Linked DNA regions of Homo sapiens: all the other regions are linked to region 2. Evidence: promoter capture Hi-C in 16 types of primary human blood cells and fetal thymus (Javierre and others, 2016). All regions are on one chromosome and are shown on one strand. The core of a region is centred on a gene start or on the middle of the fragment in contact, and the rest is flanking DNA. Distances in the headings are between cores, read along the strand shown. Region 1 holds the start of NCOA6 (nuclear receptor coactivator 6). Region 2 holds the start of AHCY (adenosylhomocysteinase). Region 3 holds the start of MMP24-AS1-EDEM2 (MMP24-AS1-EDEM2 readthrough).

Region 1 (3,374 bases), core at 97-2,596, 520 kb before region 2:
CATGGAGATAGAGAATAGAAGGAGGGTTACCAGAGGCTGGTAAGATTAATGGGGAGGTAGGTGGGAAGTGGGAATGATTAACGGGTACAAAAGAATAGTTAGAAAGAATAAGACCTAGTATTTGCTAGCACAAGAAGGTGACTACAGTAAAAAACAATTGGCCGGGCGCGGTGGCTCACGCCTATAATCCCAGCACTTTGAGGGGCAGAGGCGGGCGGATCATGAGGTCAGGAGTTCCTGACCAGCCCGGCCAATATGGTGAAACCCCATCTCTACTTAAAAAATATACAAAAATTAGCTGGGCGTGGTGGCATGCGCCTGTAGTACCAGCTACTCAGGAGGCTGAGGCAGGCGAATCCCTTGAACCAGGGAGGCGGAAGTTGCAGTGAGCTGAGATCGCGCCACTGCACTCCAGCCTGGGCGACGGAGTGAGACTCCGTCTCAAAAAAACAAAAATAAAACAAAAAACAAAAAAAAAACCACACACACACAAAATTTACTTGTACATTTTAAAATAACTAGAGTATAATTGGGTTATTTGTAACACAAAGGATAAATGCTTGAGTTGCTAGATACCCCATTTACCATGATGTGATTACACATCGCATGCCTGTATCAAAATCTCATGTACCCCATAAATATATTCACCTACTACGTACTTACGAAAATTTAAAAAATACATCAGTGTAGTGTGGGAAAAAACAGAAAATTTTTAAAAAAGAGTGAAAGCCAGATATGAATCCAGGCCTGTATGACAGACATGAAGTCCAGTGCTGAGGAGGCCTTTCTACGTTTGGGAAGAGGGGAGGGGCCACACTCGTTCGATCAATAATTCTATTTACTGAGCATTTTAGCTTGCTAGGGAGGTAATGATGGGAAAAAGAAGAGAGGGATTTAGAGGCAAATAATAATGAAAGCTTTTATCTATATCCCATTAAGCTTATTATTAGACAGTATGTGTCAGGCACGGTGACAAGTGCTTTCCAAGCCCACCTCCATTTGCTCTTCACAAGCACTATGATTTTCCCCATATTTCAGATGGGTAAACTGAGGCTTGGAGTTGCCATGTCCAAGGATACTCAGAGCGCTCGCAAAAGACTGTGCAATGTGTGCTTCCGAAGTGGGACTCACTGGCGAGAGAATAGCCCTGGAAAGCCGACAGAGACCCACGAGATCCCAGCACTAAGCACTCAGCACCGAAGGGAGCTGGCGCGCGCTCCACCTCGCGCTCCCGGGGACGTCTGGTCACGTGGGCAATGCCCCGCCCCTCGAGTCCGCCCCGCCCCCTCTCGCGCTCCCTCCCTCTCTCCCTCCCTCCCCCTCCCTCCCCGGCCCGGTCCGGCCCATCCCCCTCCCCGCCGGCTCCGTGAGGCCCTGCCGGGTCGGGCTGCGGGCGGCCGGGCGCGGGCGGCGGGACAGACGGGCGCACGCGAGGACTGACGGACGGACGCACCGAGGGCGGCGGGCACGCACGGCCCGGGCCGGCGCTCCAAGGCCCGCCCGGGAGGGCCGGGGCCGCGCTCAGGTGAGGGGACGGCGGCGCGGGCCCGTAAGGGGTGGGCCCGCCGGGCGTCCGCGGTCCTTGTCGGGCTGGCTTCGCGGGGAGGAGGCGCCGCCCGGGCCCGCGCGGAAAAATGGCGCCGGGCGACCGAGTGGCACGGTCTGAGAGCGGGCCCGGCCCGGAGCCGCCCCGCCCGCCGCGCTTGTGTCCCCGTCGCCATGTTGGGGAGCGGGCCCCAGGCCTGCGGGCGGGGGCGCTGGAGGGAGCGGCGGCCGGGCTGGGTGGGGAGGGTGCTGGGCGCGGGGGCCGGTGCACTGAGGGAGTGCAGGGCTGGCCGGGGTCTGCACGGGGTGGCGCTCCAGGCCTGGGGAACAGGCGGGAGCCGGTCGTGGGGTCGTGGTCAGGGTCGCGGAGAAGGAACACTGGGTCCGAAGGGAACCGGGATTGGGGTCTATGGGCTGAGAGGATGGCAGGACGTGGAACTGGGTTAGGCCTTAGGCGGTGTTAGAGCCCTAATGCAGGTAGGACCTGGGGATTGGGGTGGAGGCATGGGGGCCAAGCTCAGGCTGTCAGGGCTGGAGCAGTTCTTTGCTGGGAGGGAAGGAGGTGATTGATGAGGAATGAGGGCCCTTTGGGTACAGACGCTGGTTCAGATTGGGGCAGTCCTTGGGGTACTGGGGCTGAATTGCAAAGCTGTATAACTCCCAAGGCTCTGAAGACTTATGTCCCAAGCATCCTCCACCCCCTCTTGGGGGAAGCAACAGGAAAAAGGAGGTGTTTGATGAGAGAAAAGGGGGACAAAGGGAGACTGAGGTTTGGGTGCAGGAGCTGGCCAGCAAAAGAGGCACAGAGAGTGGAACTGGTTGGCAAGGAAGGAGAGAACCTTTATCAACTTAGGGAGTTGTGTGTGTCTTTAAAAGGAGGGACCTGGCTGTTTGGGGGCGGTGACCCAAGGTGTCTTCCCTGGAAGGGGACAGCCCACAGCTTAAGAGCAGAGTCACCTGGAGAGGTCATCAGAAAGGCGTTATTGAAGCCAGTAAAATGGTGAAGAAGAGTGAATGTATAAAAACTACAAAGGCCTGAGAGATCAAGTAAAGATTTCAAATCAGGTAGTGATTTTAGCTGAAACATAGAAAGGTAAAGTTGACTTTTCAAGATCTTACAAGTTAGTGGCAGAGGGGTACTAGAAATTGTCGGCTGCTTCCTCACTAAACACATTGCCTTAAAGGAATTTGCTAGCTGGGAGAAAGGTGTTAAGAAATGAAGCATAACATTCTTGTGATGAAACTAAAAGCAAACAAACAAAAACAACAAGAAATGAAGCATAACAGTATATACCAGATAACTATTAAATTTGTTTTCTTCCTGTAATGAGTGTGGCAATACAAAGGCTGAAGGGAATACAAAAAAGTATAGGCAGCCAGTTATTTGGTATTTCCTGGTTCATCTCTAATTGTGCAAAGAAGTTATCTTTGAGACCTTCTAACTTTCTAGAGTTTTAAGAGGTGCTCCGGCCAGCCACAGTGGCTCACGCCTGTAATCCCAACACTTTGGGAGGCCAAGGTGGGAGGATTTCTTGAGCCCAGGAGCTGGCAGACCCCATCTCTACAAAAGAAATAAAAAAAATTAGCCACCTGATGTGGCTTGTACTTGTAGTCCCAGCTACTCAGGAGGCTGAGGTGGGAGGATCGCTTGAGCCTGGGAGGTCAAGGCTGCAATGAGCCATGCTATGGTCATTCCATGACATTCCTGCCTGGGCGACAGAGCAAGACACTGTCTAAAGAAAAAAAAAAAAGAGAGATGCTCCTTCTCTTCTAGGTGTTTACCACAAAGGAACACAAAATCCTAAAAAAGAAAAGTGAAAAATTGTAGA
Region 2 (3,422 bases), core at 891-3,390:
GGACCCTGCTGCCCACCTCCCAGGCGTGGACCCTCGTTCCCTCAGGAAGTCTCTGCTTGACATCGGCCCTCATGACTCTCAGACAGAGGTCAGATGTACAGATCAAGTGAGACCAATACATTTACTATGTCATAGAAGACCTTAATTCTTATTTTTATTTTTTATTTTTTGAGACAAGAGTCTCCCTCCGTCGCCCAGGCCGGAGTGCAGTGGTGCGATCTCGGCTCACTGCAAGCTCGGCCTCCCGGGTTCACGCCATTCTCCTGCCTCAGCCTTGCGAGTAGCTGGGACTACAGGCTCCCGACACCACGCCCAGCTAATTTTTTTTTTTTTTTGTATTTTTAGTAGAGATGGGGTTTTACCCTGTTAGCCAGGATGGTCTCGATTTCCTGACCCCGTGATCCGCCCGCCTCGGCCTCCCAATGTGCTGGGATTACAGGCGTGAGCCACGCGCCCGGCCAGAAGAGTTTAATTCTTTTCTCATTTTTAGGTTAAAAAATGAGTAGAGGCCGGGCACGGTGGCTCACGCCAGTAATCCCAGCACTTTGGGAGGCAGAGGCTGGCGGATCACCTGAGGTCGGGAGTTCGAGATTAGCCTGACCAATATGGAGAAACCCCGTCTCTACTAAAAATACAAAATTAGCCAGGCGTGGTGGCTCATGCCTGTAATCCCAGCTACTCGGGAGGCTGAGGCAAGAGAATCGCTTGAATCCGGGAGGCAGAGGTTGGTGTGAGCCAAGATCATGCCATTGCACTCCAGCCTGGGCAACAAGCGCCAAACTCTATCTCAAAAAAAGAAAAAACAAAATTAGCCAGGTGTGGTGGTGCGTGCCTGTAATCCAAGCCACTCGGGAGGCTGAGGCAGGAGAATTGCTTGAACCCGGGAGGTGGAGGTTGCAGCGAGCCTAGATGGTGCCACTGCACTCCAGTGTGGGCGACAGAGTGAGACTCCATAAAAAAAAAAAAAAATTCAGGGGAAAAAAAGCAATTAAAAAAACATAACTATAAAAATAATACAAATTACAAAACAACCATTTGCATAGCATTTACATTATATTAGTTATAAGTAATCTAGAGATGATTAAAGTGTACGGAGGAATGTGCATAGGTTATATGCCAATACTGCCTCATTTTATATGAGGGACTTGAACATAGAAGGGTTTTGGAGTCCACAGAGGTCCTGAAACCAATTTCCCCTTCCCATGCCTGGGATGACTGAATTATACAGCAGCAAAAATGAATATACTCAAGCTATATGCATGAGTCTCATAAATATAATGCTCACAGAAAAAAGCAAGTTGCAGAAGGGTAAATACGGTTGATATATAAAGGTGCTAAACACAGAACTATTTAATGATATACGGATGCAGTAAAAGTATAAGAAATGTATGCAAACTTACTTAAATTCAGGGTGTTGGTTACTTGGAGTAAGGCGAATGTTTGGGATGTCAGTAGGTACCTGACAAATGGCAACTTAACTTTGTTTTGGTTTTTTTGAGATAGGGTCTTGCCCTTTCGCCCAGGCTCAAGTGCTGTGGTGGGATGATAGCTCACTGCAGCCTCGATCTCCAGGCTCAAAAGATCCTCCCTCCCGCCTCCGCGTCCCAAGTAGCTGGGACCACAAGCGCGCGCCACCACGCCCGGCTAATTTTTAATTTTTTTTTGTAGAGTTCAGGTCTCACTGTGTTGCCCAGGATGGTCTTGAACTCCTGGGCTCAAGCGATCCTCCCGCCTTGGCCTCCCAAAGTGCTGGGATTACAGGTGTGAGCCACCGCGCCTGGCCTGCAACTTTACTTATAATAATCTGTGTGGCAGATGTCATTTGGCCCATTTTACAGATGAGGAAATTGAGGCACAGGGAAGTGAACTGGCGGAATTTCAGTTCCGCTGGGTTTTGACACTGAATCAACTGGCTGAACCAGCGAGAGGACGGCCCGGCTGGCTCTCAGGCCTCTCCCGGCGCTCCCTTCCGGACCGGTGAGTGAGACTCCTGGGGCCACGCCTTGTGAAATTCTGAGGCTTCTTTTCAGGGATCGAAATCCCCTCCGGCTCCGCCCTGCGCGTTGGGCCCCGCCCCAGCGGGTCATGAATATGCAAGTGCGAGGAAGATATTTAAAGGCGTCGGCGCCACGCGCATATCCCTGCTCGGCGCTGCCCGCCCAGTTCCTGTTCCCAGACTGAGGCCCAGCCCCCTTCGCCCGTTTCCATCACGAGTGCCGCCAGCATGTCTGACAAACTGCCCTACAAAGTCGGTGAGTCCCAGGACCTGCAGCCGGTTGCGGCCGCCCGGCACCCGCCCGGGGCTTGTTCGTGGCGGGGGCTGCAGGGCCGACTCGGGGCTCTCTGGACCCCCTGGAATCGCAGCCTCGGCGCGTTTCTGGCCGCGCGAAGCCAGCTGGAAGTTGGAGTTCTCGCGCGGCCATGAGCGGGCCGTTCCGGGTGGCCGTGGACTACAAGTCCCAGCATGCCCCGCGACGCCGGGGCCGCCGCGCGGTCTGCGAGCCGCAAACTGGCGGCGTGCTCCGCGGGAGAGCACACCTGGCCACGGCCTGGGACGGCTGGCACCTGCCGGACCCTGCTCGGGGGGCCTGCGCCCGGCCTCCTAGGCCTGGACCGGACCCTGTCCAGCTGGGCGGCCCCGACGAGCGTCCACCCCTCTCTGGGCCTCCTACAGGGACGGCGAGGGCACCCCGGAGGGTGTATGAGGAGAGGCCTGGAAAGCGAGCCCCAGGCCGGCTCCGATCCTCCTCTCCCCTGGGACTTTGGGCCAGTTACCCAACCTGTGGGGTCCCCCACCCCTCCAGCAGGGGCAGCCTTGCAGAAATCTCGAAGAAAATTTGGAGTGGTTTGAAAAATCCTGCTGTCCCACCGATTGAAGTGTAATACAGGGATAGTTAACGTTTACTTAGTGTTTCCTGTGGGATCGGCACTGCCTTCTAGCTTTATTCTAGTCTCATGGCTCTATAGGGAAACTGTTCTCATTTTATGATGAGAATCCTGAGGCAGAGGTAACTTGCCCTCAGTCTTACAGCTGGTGGTGATGGAGCAAGATTGGAACGCAGGCCATCTAGATCTCTGAGCGCACCCTTTCACCACTGTGTGCAAGCGAATACACGCGGAACAATCCTAGTGAATTTTCAGCAAAAACCAGTTCAGTTTGGCTGGTAGCTTTTCAAGTAACTTTGACACTATTGGACCGGGTGTGGTGGCTCACCCCTGTAGTCCCAGCACTTTGAGAGGCCGAGGTGGGCGAATCACTTGAGGTCAAGAGTTCGAGACCAGCCTGGCCAACGTGGTGAAACGCTATCTCTACCAAAAATACAAAAACTAGCTGGGCGTGGTGGCGGGCGCCTTCATTCCCAGCTACTCGGGAGGCTGAGGCAGGAGGACTGTTTGAGCCGGGGAGACGGAGGTTGCAGTGA
Region 3 (3,360 bases), core at 825-3,324, 970 kb before region 2:
GATGCTTCTGGGCATGGAGAACCTTGGTTCTGGGGCTGTAAGTTCTGAGCCCTGAACACAATATCTTTGATTGACAGGAGACAGAAGAAATTCTGGCAGATGTGCTCAAGGTGGAAGTCTTCAGACAGACAGTGGCCGACCAGGTGCTAGTAGGAAGCTACTGTGTCTTCAGCAATCAGGGAGGGCTGGTGCATCCCAAGACTTCAATTGAAGACCAGGATGAGCTGTCCTCTCTTCTTCAAGTCCCCCTTGTGGTAAGCATTCCTGTCCTCTGAACCCCGTCTCCCGAGGCAGATCCTTTTGCCTAGTGTTTGGGAGTCTGGGTCATTACCTGCCACAGTTTGGGACTGGGGCTGCAGGTCAGGGAGGAGCAGGGTTTGGGGAGAGTCTTCATTGAGGAGGGAGAGAATTTGGTGCCGTGACTCACATTGAGCCCATCCCTTGGCAGGCGGGGACTGTGAACCGAGGCAGTGAGGTGATTGCTGCTGGGATGGTGGTGAATGACTGGTGTGCCTTCTGTGGCCTGGACACAACCAGCACAGAGCTGTCAGTGGTGGAGAGTGTCTTCAAGCTGAATGAAGCCCAGCCTAGCACCATTGCCACCAGCATGCGGGATTCCCTCATTGACAGGTACCTGGGGCCTCTCCTTTCTTCTGCTCAGGGTTGGGGGTTAACTTGCATTTTGAGAGTATGGGGAAAAGATGTCATCTAGAATGGGAGCCTACCAGTTTGTTCTGGTAGCTTCTCGAGTGTGAGAGCATATCTGTACACTGCTGAGCAGATAAGAGCCAGCATATTCAAAAAATATTTCTTGAGCATCTGCTAATCCTCATCTTTGTGGTTTTTCAGGGCTAGGATACTAGAGCAGTAGCTGCTTGAGCAGCTTGTCAGAGCTGGTCCCGGGATGAGGGCTGAGGCAGGCACCTCACTTGAGAGTGAGGTGGGCTCTGTGAAACAGCTACTGACCGTGCGCTTTCCTTTCTCTTCAGCCTCACCTGAGTCACCTTCCAAGTTGTTCCATGGGCTCCTGGCTCTGGACTGTGGCCAACCTTCTCCACATTCCGCCCAATCTGTACCGGATGCTGGCAGGGAGGTGGCAGAGAGCTCACTGGGACTGAGGGGCTGGGCACCCAACCCTTTTCCACCTGTGCTTATCGCCTGGATCTATCATTACTGCAAAAACCTGCTCTGTTGTGCTGGCTGGCAGGCCCTGTGGCTGCTGGCTGAGGGTTCTGCTGTCCTGTGCCACCCCATTAAAGTGCAGTTCCCTCCGGGCCATTCTGAATGTGATGTTTGGGGCCCTCAGCCTGTGTACAATCCCTGCACTCTCCAGTTGTTCCAGCATTCTGGGAAGATAGGGTGGGATGAACACAACACACACCCAACCCAGTTCACCACCTCCACACACGCCATTCCCTTCTCCTCTACCATCAGGATGTGAGGCTTCATCCTGGGGCAAGAAACACTCTCCACTACAGTTCTCCTTTTTTCTTTTTTCTTTTTGAGGCAGTGTCTCCCTCTGTCACCCAGGCTGGAGTGTTGTGACGCAAGGATGGCTCACTGTAGCCTTGACCTGTTGGGCTCAAGCGATCCTCTCGCCTCGTTTATTTTTTTGTAGAAACGAAGTCACTGTGTTGCCCAGGCTGGTTTATACTCCTGAACTCAAGCGACCCACCGCCTCGGCCTCCCAAAGTGTTGGGATTACAGGCGTGAGCCACGGCGCCCGGTCTAGTTCTCACAGTTTTCACCCGACTTCTGCGCCGGTCTTCTCTGGCCTTGAAAGGCAGAGAGTCCGTTCCGATTTTCCCCTGAGCTGGGCAAGTCCCCTGTGAGAGCTCTGGGGCATCTGGCTTCGGGGCATTCTTTGACTAAGGTGGATGGAGGTTGCAGGTCTTTTCCTGGGTGGGCGTGGGGCGGGGCAGCGGGTTCCCAGCGTCCTCCTGGCCTGGGCGTCTTGGAGGCTGTTGGGGTGCATTCCGTCCCCTTGCGCGGGGCGGGGCCTTGAGGCGCTGGGGCGGGATTGGCGGGGGACGGTCGCGGAGCCCCGCCCCGAAGCACAGGGTCGAGTCCCTTCTTTCCGCTCCAACGCACGGAGGGTGAGGTCGGTACGCGGTGGTGGCGTCACGGCGCCAGCTCCTCCCGACGCCGAGGTGGGTTCCGGGAGACCCGCGGGTCTGGCTGCGAGAGGTGAGGGCAGAGCCGGGGCGGGGCCCTAGCGGGGTGTCCCGGCGACCCAGACCTTAAAGGGCTTCTCTTCTTGCAGACCATGGGGGCTCAGCTAAGCGGCGGCCGCGGCGCCCCGGAGCCTGCGCAAACCCAGCCCCAGCCCCAGCCCCAGCCTGCGGCGCCGGAGGGCCCGGAACAGCCCCGGCATCCGCCCCAGCCCCAGCCCCAGCCCCAGCCCCAGCCCCAGCCCGAGCCCAGCCCGTGGGGGCCGCTGGACGACGTGCGCTTCCTCATCGCCTGCACTTCCTGGTACTGACGGCGTCCTCCGCAGGATGTCGCCCGTCTGTCCGCCGTCCCCTGTGGTTCTTGCCTGCCTTGTCTCCTCTCCCCACGTCCCTGCGTCTCTTACACCCCCTCCCACCCGAGGCTCCCCAGAGATAGCAGAGAATTCGAAGAGGTCGCCGGGGACTGGAAAGAAGTCCCGGCAGGGCCGCCTTCGCAGTCTACACCCCAGCCTGCTTCCCAGCCTACACCCAGACCCAGCTCAGACCTTCGTGACCACCCCATCCCTTTCTCCGGCTGGCTGGGTCGGGGGCATCCCTCTCTGTCGCTGGCTTCCAGAGGCAGGACAGGCCTCCTGGTAAGCCCGCAAAGTTGCTGACCTCCTGACTTCGTCTGCCTTTTATTAATATCTGTATTGCTGATAACCGTGCTCTTGACTATGTGTCCCAGGTCATGTCCCAGGTCATGGAGAAGCCCGTGCCACAGTGACCCTCCCCATACTCCTGGGGGGGCTGCTCTCCATCCTGGATCGTAAGGAGGCATCATCAGGCTGTGTTCCTGGAACCCCAATAACCCTGGGCCCCCAGGGCCAGCCTGTTGTAGAGGGAGGCTATCTGACCGCCGGTCTGGCAGAGGAGATGGGTGGGCAGCTCCCAGACACCCCAAAGGACCCGGTTCTCTTCCCAGAGCGTCCTAAGGTTACTCTTGGAACCTGATCTTTGTTCCCTCATCCCAGGGAAATGACACACTCTGTATTTCTGTTTTATTTAGAAATGATTTAAAAAACATTATACAAAGGCTGATCAGTTTAAAATGTGACTGACACTGAAATGCTGTGATGTCCCCCAGGCTGAGGGGAAGCTAGGCTCTGGGGCCCCCAGTGCTTTGCCCCTCTGTCTGCCCTGTCCTGGG

The links. The method cuts DNA at HindIII sites, captures the fragments that hold promoters and counts their contacts. A CHiCAGO score of 5 or more calls a contact.
Region 1: a contact is called between the fragment with the promoter of NCOA6 here and the fragment with the promoter of AHCY in region 2, in 1 of 17 cell types (activated CD4 T cells). The highest score is 8.3, in activated CD4 T cells.
Region 3: the fragment with the promoter of MMP24-AS1-EDEM2 here is called in contact with the fragment with the promoter of AHCY in region 2 in 1 of 17 cell types (neutrophils); the score reaches 6.4 in neutrophils.

Annotation. Positions count from the first base shown.
Region 1 is chr20:34,823,623-34,826,996 of GRCh38, reverse strand. It overlaps NCOA6 (nuclear receptor coactivator 6), which reads left to right and starts at 1,346. Exons shown (of 15, transcript NM_014071.5): 1 at 1,346-1,525. RefSeq lists silencers at 1,240-1,429, 1,440-1,879. The HindIII fragment of the contact is 10,135 bases long and covers 942-3,374 here.
Region 2 is chr20:34,302,073-34,305,494 of GRCh38, reverse strand. It overlaps AHCY (adenosylhomocysteinase), which reads left to right and starts at 2,140. Exons shown (of 10, transcript NM_000687.4): 1 at 2,140-2,252. The coding sequence starts at 2,225. RefSeq lists enhancers at 1,776-1,895, 1,916-1,965 and a silencer at 2,536-2,765. The HindIII fragment of the contact is 32,031 bases long and covers 1-3,422 here.
Region 3 is chr20:35,276,836-35,280,195 of GRCh38, reverse strand. MMP24-AS1-EDEM2 (MMP24-AS1-EDEM2 readthrough) reads left to right here and starts at 2,074. Exons shown (of 15, transcript NM_001355008.2): 1 at 2,074-2,150. It overlaps MMP24 (matrix metallopeptidase 24), which reads right to left. Exons shown (of 9, transcript NM_006690.4): 9 at 3,198-3,360. It overlaps MMP24OS (MMP24 opposite strand), which reads left to right and starts at 2,074. Exons shown (of 2, transcript NM_001355003.2): 1 at 2,074-2,187; 2 at 2,264-3,360. The coding sequence starts at 2,267. The coding sequence ends at 2,482. It overlaps EIF6 (eukaryotic translation initiation factor 6), which reads left to right. Exons shown (of 7, transcript NM_002212.4): 5 at 78-254; 6 at 449-630; 7 at 990-1,278. The coding sequence ends at 999. RefSeq lists silencers at 1,895-2,114, 2,205-2,424 and enhancers at 2,555-2,724, 2,845-2,944. The HindIII fragment of the contact is 17,447 bases long and covers 1-3,360 here.